2 separate regions of the Homo sapiens genome follow, and region 1 is linked to region 2. Evidence: promoter capture Hi-C in human tissues and cell types (Jung and others, 2019). All regions are on one chromosome and are shown on one strand. Each heading gives the region's core, a stretch centred on a gene start or on the middle of the fragment in contact. The rest is flanking DNA. Distances are from core to core; before and after follow the strand shown. Region 1 holds the start of TPM4 (tropomyosin 4). Region 2 holds the start of PRKACA (protein kinase cAMP-activated catalytic subunit alpha).

What was found. Contacts are between HindIII fragments. The study calls those that stand out against the background at their distance.
Region 1: a contact is called between the fragment with the promoter of TPM4 here and the fragment with the promoter of PRKACA in region 2, in 1 of the 25 tissues and cell types used here (lymphoblastoid cells).

The regions. Positions count from the first base shown.
Region 1 is chr19:16,075,092-16,078,032 of GRCh38, forward strand. TPM4 (tropomyosin 4) reads left to right here and starts at 1,404. Exons shown (of 8, transcript NM_003290.3): 1 at 1,404-1,606. The coding sequence starts at 1,475. RefSeq lists enhancers at 288-1,017, 1,018-1,745, 1,746-2,475 and a silencer at 1,054-1,963. The HindIII fragment of the contact is 17,695 bases long and covers 1-2,941 here.
Region 2 is chr19:14,116,418-14,119,319 of GRCh38, forward strand. It overlaps PRKACA (protein kinase cAMP-activated catalytic subunit alpha), which reads right to left and starts at 1,345. Exons shown (of 10, transcript NM_002730.4): 1 at 1,085-1,345. The coding sequence starts at 1,130. It overlaps LOC124904642 (a long non-coding RNA gene), which reads left to right and starts at 1,797. Exons shown (of 2, transcript XR_007067144.1): 1 at 1,797-2,774; 2 at 2,892-2,902. RefSeq lists silencers at 926-995, 1,406-1,965. The HindIII fragment of the contact is 9,947 bases long and covers 1-2,902 here.

The DNA.
Region 1 (2,941 bases), core at 154-2,653, 2.0 Mb after region 2:
AAAAAAGTCAGATCCAGGCATGAGCTGGATATGATCACCCTAATCCAGAGTTGGGGGCCCAGGGAGGGAGTTTCAGCCTGGAGGTGACAGAAAAGTCTTCTTGAGCCAACTCTAGACCGGTGTGGTGGGGGGTGACAAAGAGAGGTGATGGGGTCTGTGGTTTGTAATCCATAGGCCTGAGCTTCTCAAACTAGGAGTGATGGGAGGATAGGACTCTTGGGATAAACAGAGGACTGAAAATTTAGGGAAAGTAGGGGACATTTTTATTAAAATGAACATGGCCTATATGCAAAAATTTTAAAGATTTAACCCGAGCCTTCAAAGAAAGTGATCCTGTAGGGGCGAGTCTCTTCTAGCCAAGCTCCCCAAAGCCCAGAAATGAGGGACTAGGTCTGAGCCCTTCAGCCCTTCAGAGTATTTTGGTAAGACAGTCTAAGAACCACTGCCTTGGGCCATAGGGAGCCATAGCAGGTTCTAGGCAGAAAGAGGGCAGGCGTATTTGTTAGAAAGTTTCTCTGACCCCGTGTTGGGGTCAGAACCAGAGGGAGAAAGGCTGGGGACAGGGATGGGCGGAGGGATCCACGCGCAGAGAATGAGATTGCTTAACTCCAGATCATGGTGAGGCTGCACCTCTGAAACTGGAATGTGTGTATTTCTGGAAAACATTTGGAGTCTTCAGTTTCCCAAAAGCTGCCATTGATCTCCCTAGAGTACTGGGGACCCCAATAAGCCCAAAACAGCTGGTCCTCAGGACGAGGGAAAGATGTGAAAATCCCACTATCAGGTAGCATGGATGGCGTGGTGCATGCTATCGCAACCCCTGTTCTACAGATAAGGAAACTGATGCCCAGAGAGAGACGGAGGACTCTTGTGAATATTGGGGGGGACCGCCCCTGCACCTCGGGGACGTGACCCCCCCCCCAGGCTGACCCGTTCCTCGCTCTGTCGTCCCCAGGTGGAGGAGGAGCTGACGCACCTCCAGAAGAAACTAAAAGGGACAGAGGACGAGCTGGATAAATATTCCGAGGACCTGAAGGACGCGCAGGAGAAGCTGGAGCTCACGGAGAAGAAGGCCTCCGACGTACGTGTGCAGGGATGCGGGAGCCCGCGGCGGGGCCAGGCCGGAGCCCCGGGGCCGGGAAGGCGGGGAGAGCCGCAGGGGGAGGAGGAAGAGGAGGAGGAGAAGGCGGCGCCTCCCAGCGCTTTCTCCAAATAAGTCCCGAAAAGGGGCACTTTCCAGCAGCTGTGGCCAGCGGTGCCGACGTCAGGCCCTCCCCCAGCGGTGCTGACGTCGGCGGTCCGGCCGGGTGACCTCATCGCCCCGACGGCAGCCGGCCCGGGGGGCGGGGAGAGGCGGGGGCGGCCCCCGCGCAGGCAAAGGCTTGGGGGGCCGGGGCGCGGCTGTGCAGCTCTCGCCGGAGCCGAGCCCAGCCGAGCGTCCGCCGCTGCCCGTGCGCCTCTGCGCCTCCGCGCCATGGCCGGCCTCAACTCCCTGGAGGCGGTGAAACGCAAGATCCAGGCCCTGCAGCAGCAGGCGGACGAGGCGGAAGACCGCGCGCAGGGCCTGCAGCGGGAGCTGGACGGCGAGCGCGAGCGGCGCGAGAAAGTGAGCGCCCCGGCCTCGGGCCCCGCACCCGCAGCCTCCTCCCCCGCGCGCCCTCCTTTCTTCCCGGCTTCCCGCGCTGCCCGCCCGCGCGCAGTCCTCGGGCCGCCTTTTTACGCCCTCGGACGCCGATCGCCGACCCACATCCCTGCGCCCGCAGCCAGGACCCCCTACTTCCTCCGCCGTCCTCCTTCCTGGGCCTGGGACAGGGGAGGGGGCGCCGCCTCCGGGTCGGGCGGGGCCGGCCAAGCGGGAAATGGGGGGATGGGGCGGAGGGGGTGAGCGATCTCCGGGTGGAGAAGTGGAGCGGCGGGAGGGGGCGTATCGTGCAGGCTCCGACTCCGGGGCTGGCGCCGGGGTCCCGGGCCGAGGGGAACCCGCGACCGGACTTGTGGGGGAGAATGAGGATGAAAACGTGGAGCTTCCATTGTCTAGGGTTTGACCGGCCGACAGGGATTTCGACGGGGGACCGGGGATCTGGGGAGGGGGTCGCACTTTCTCGCCTCTTTCGCGGCTTCCCGGCTTCTGCTTGCTTCCCTGACCGTTCCCAGGGGCGCGGCGGCGACGTGTCTGCTCCAGGCGGCGGGGGGGATGGGGGGTGGAGGAAGTTCAGCCCCAAGCCGCCCGCCTTTCTCCAGCTGATTCCTGCGGGAACCGGGGCGGCGGGACCCTGCCTCTCTCCAGAAGGCCCCGGGAACGCTGGCGCGGGGCCCTGAACCCACGATCGTTTGAGCGCCTGCTGTGCGCCTCCGCCGCGAGTCGCAGGGCCCGAGATAAACAATGGGTCTGAAAAAGGAGGGAGTTTCACCATCCTCTCTGCATCATCCTCCTGGCTGTCCCTCGGGACAGATGGTGGCACCGCCAGGGTCTGGGGACAGATTTGGATTCTGGTCCCATATCATGCCACCCACAGGCTTCATGACTTGGTATTTGCTCTCTAGGAGCTTTTTTCCCATCTGCGAGTAGGACTGATAAGAATCCCGACCCCCCAGAGTAGCAGGGAGGGTCCCAGGAGTAAATCTCAGGCGTGGAGCCTGGCGCTTTGTAAATAATCAATTGTGTTGTTGTTTTTTGTTGTTTTGTTTTTGAGGCAGTCTCACTCTGTCGCCCAGGCTGGAGTGCAGTGGTGCGATCTCGGCTCGCTGCAACCTCCACCCCCCGAGTTCAAGAGATTCTCCTGCTTCAGCCTCCCGAGTAGCTGGGATTACAGGTGCCCGCCACCACGCCCAGCTAATTTTTTTTTTTTTATTTTGGATTTTTAGTAGAGACAGTGTCTCACCATGCTGGCCAGGCTGGTCTCGAACTCCTGACCTCGTGATCTGCCCACCTTGGCCTCCC
Region 2 (2,902 bases), core at 95-2,594:
TAGACGTCACCCATTACTCTCTTTGACTGCCTCCTCCTCCCCAGTGCTCTTTCTGACCATCTCAGTTAGAACCGAATGAACCTCGCTAAACCCAGACACTTTTCATCCCAAGCCAGGAGTGGTGGAAGAAGCCCCAGGGACTGGGTGAATGACGGAGCCTCAGTTGTGAAACGACCATTTATTGAGGGGCCCTCCATGGAGCCTAGAGCTCACTGCAAGACAGGAAATGAGAGGGGGCTCTGCCACCACCCCCTTACCCCAACGCAGGAAAGAGGATGCAATGAATCCCAACAAGACCAGCTCAAACTTGGCTTTGGAAGCACTGAAGCAATTCTCTACGTTCATAAACAGTCTGCTACCCCAGCCAGGGACAGACGCTTGCTTGGAGGACGGAGCACAAGCAGAGCAGCAGAATGACAGAGTGACAGGATGAGAGAGGCAGAGGGACCCAGAAAGATCCTGTCCCCCATGCCAAGTGACACAGAAGAAAAAAATAATGCTGGAGGTGGCTCTGGGAAATGTTCAGGGGGCAGGATGGGTTTGGAAGGGGGGGCTGTGCTAAGGTGAAGAGGGAAAGGGCAGGAGAAAGATGGCGGGGGCTGGAGGGGGGAGGGGTGTGGTCAGCAAGTGGCCAAGGTCCCTGCGCGGTGGAGGCAGACAGACCTCATCGCATTCCCAAACTGGTAGAAACCTGGGTCGGGGTCAGGCAGAGGATCCCATAGGTGAGAGAGGTGAGTGAGGAAGTGGGGGGATTAGAATCTGGGAAGAGGGGCCAGGAAAGGAGGGGGTAGGCTGGTGACAGGGGCCCATGTGGGGCCCCAGCGGTCATACGTGCCATGGTTGGCAGTGACAGCTGGGGGGGAGCACGGTCTTTGCAGCATGGGGCGGCCCTAGGGGAAGGGGACCCCTACAGGGGGTACTCTGCGGGCCCGCGGGCCCCAGCCTTGGACAGGCCGGGGCAAGGGGCGCTGGGGGGTAGGCAGAGAGGATGAGGGGCCCCGTAGGGGGAGGGGCCAGGCGATGATGGACAAGGCCAGGGCTGGCAGCGCAGGGCCAAGATCGGGGTCACAGCCCGGGCACTCACCGCTCTCCTGCTCGCTGCCCTTCTTGGCGGCGGCGGCGTTGCCCATCGCGGCGGCGGCGGCCGGGGCCGGTCCCGGAGCTGCGGCGCGGCGGGTGCTGGCTGCGGCCGGCGGCCCCGGAGCGCGCTGGGCGGCGGCGGCGGCGGCCCTCGGGCTGGCTGCGCTAGCTGCGGCGCCGCGACCCCCGCCCAGCCCCTGCTTCCCGCGTCTCTCCGCGCCCGCCCGCCCGGGAACCTCAGCCCAAGATCTCTGCCGCTGTCTGTGACGCCCCCGCAGCCCGCCGCTCATTGGCCTAGGCCGCCCTGACTGACGGCTCAGCGCCGCCTCCCATTGGCCCTCCCGCGACCTTCCCGCGCCACTATAGGCTCTCAGCCTCGGGACACGCACCGCGGACTCTCGGCCATTCACTCGCTCGCGAGGCCGCAGCTGGGCGGGCAGACGCGTCCGATTGGCCGAGACGCTGGACTGGGCCCGGGGTCCGCCCTGCGAGGCCGCCGATTGGCGGAGGTGCCGGGTCCGCCAAGCCCCCCAGCAGAACGCTCAGTGTCAATCCGGGGGTGAGAGGGCGGGGCGGAGACGCAGTCTGCGGGCCCGGGCCGGCGGGGCGGGGCGGCGGAGGCTGGCTGGCGGCCGCGCAGCGCTCCGAGGCTCAGGAGGCGGCCCCGGCGGGCGCCCGGCCGGCCCCGCGCGCGCCGCAGTCCCCCGCCCCCGCTCAGTGCGGCAGCGGCTGTCGGCCAGCCGGAGTTGGCGCCGCGGCCTGCCCGGCGCAGCCGCTGTCCACCTGCCAGCGGGGGAGGGGCGCGGCCGGCGCGCGGGTCAGAGGTCGCCCGGCCGCCGCCGGCGTCATTCATAAGGCCTGGCGCTGGGCGGCCGAGGCCAGGCCTGCTTGGGGGCCAGGCCGCGGGGCCTCCTGGGTTTTCCCAGCCGCACTCAGGAGGATGCCGGGCCCGGCGCAAGGGGTGGCTGGGAAGGGGCGCTCAGTGTCCACCCCTTTGCTGGGCCCTAGCCCTGGGCTCCTGCCAGTAGTAAGAGCTGGCACCCACTTAACGCTCCTTCGCACCACACTCCCATCGCGTAGGTGCTACCATCATCACTCCCATTGCACAGATGAGGAATCTGGGGTACAGCCAGGCAGATTCCCTGCTCCTGTTCCCCGTCTGTATTTCCTGTCTGGGCAATGCGAAGGGAACCTGCCCCTTCCTTCAGGATCCTCTTTCAGTACACACTTAGCAGAGGACAGTCGGGGTTTCCCAACTGCGACACTACTGACGGTGAGGCTGGATCATTTTCTGCTGGGGGGTGTCTTGTGCACCACTGGGTGTTGAGCAACATCCCCCGCCTCTACCCACTGGATGCCAGTAGCCCCTCCTCTATCTTCCTGCTGGCTGTGGCAACCGCTGTCTCCTGACATTGGTGAATGTGCTCTTGCGGGGCCGAACTGCTCCTGATTGAGAAGCACTTAAGAGAGGGTCAGGGGAGGGGAGAAGCCAGGTCACCCCGACTCGGAAGGGCTAGCTGGGCTTAACTACAAGCCGATCTGCTGCTTCGACTTGAATAGCCTCCACCTTCTCCAGCTGCTGTCTGCCCCCATGTTCCCAGATCAACCACAGTTCCAGGGAGGGAGAGTCAGAGCCTTTCTGTGAACTATGGGGAAATGGCTGACCACTCCGCCTCTGGATGGATAGATACATGGTAAGGTTTAGTAAAATTTAATAAAAGCATTGCTGTTTGTGTGTTGGGATCACGATGTTAATTTCCTGTGGGTCAAGGGCAAAGTCTGAAAAATCACTCATTATAATCTATCTGCAGGACAGCTGGTT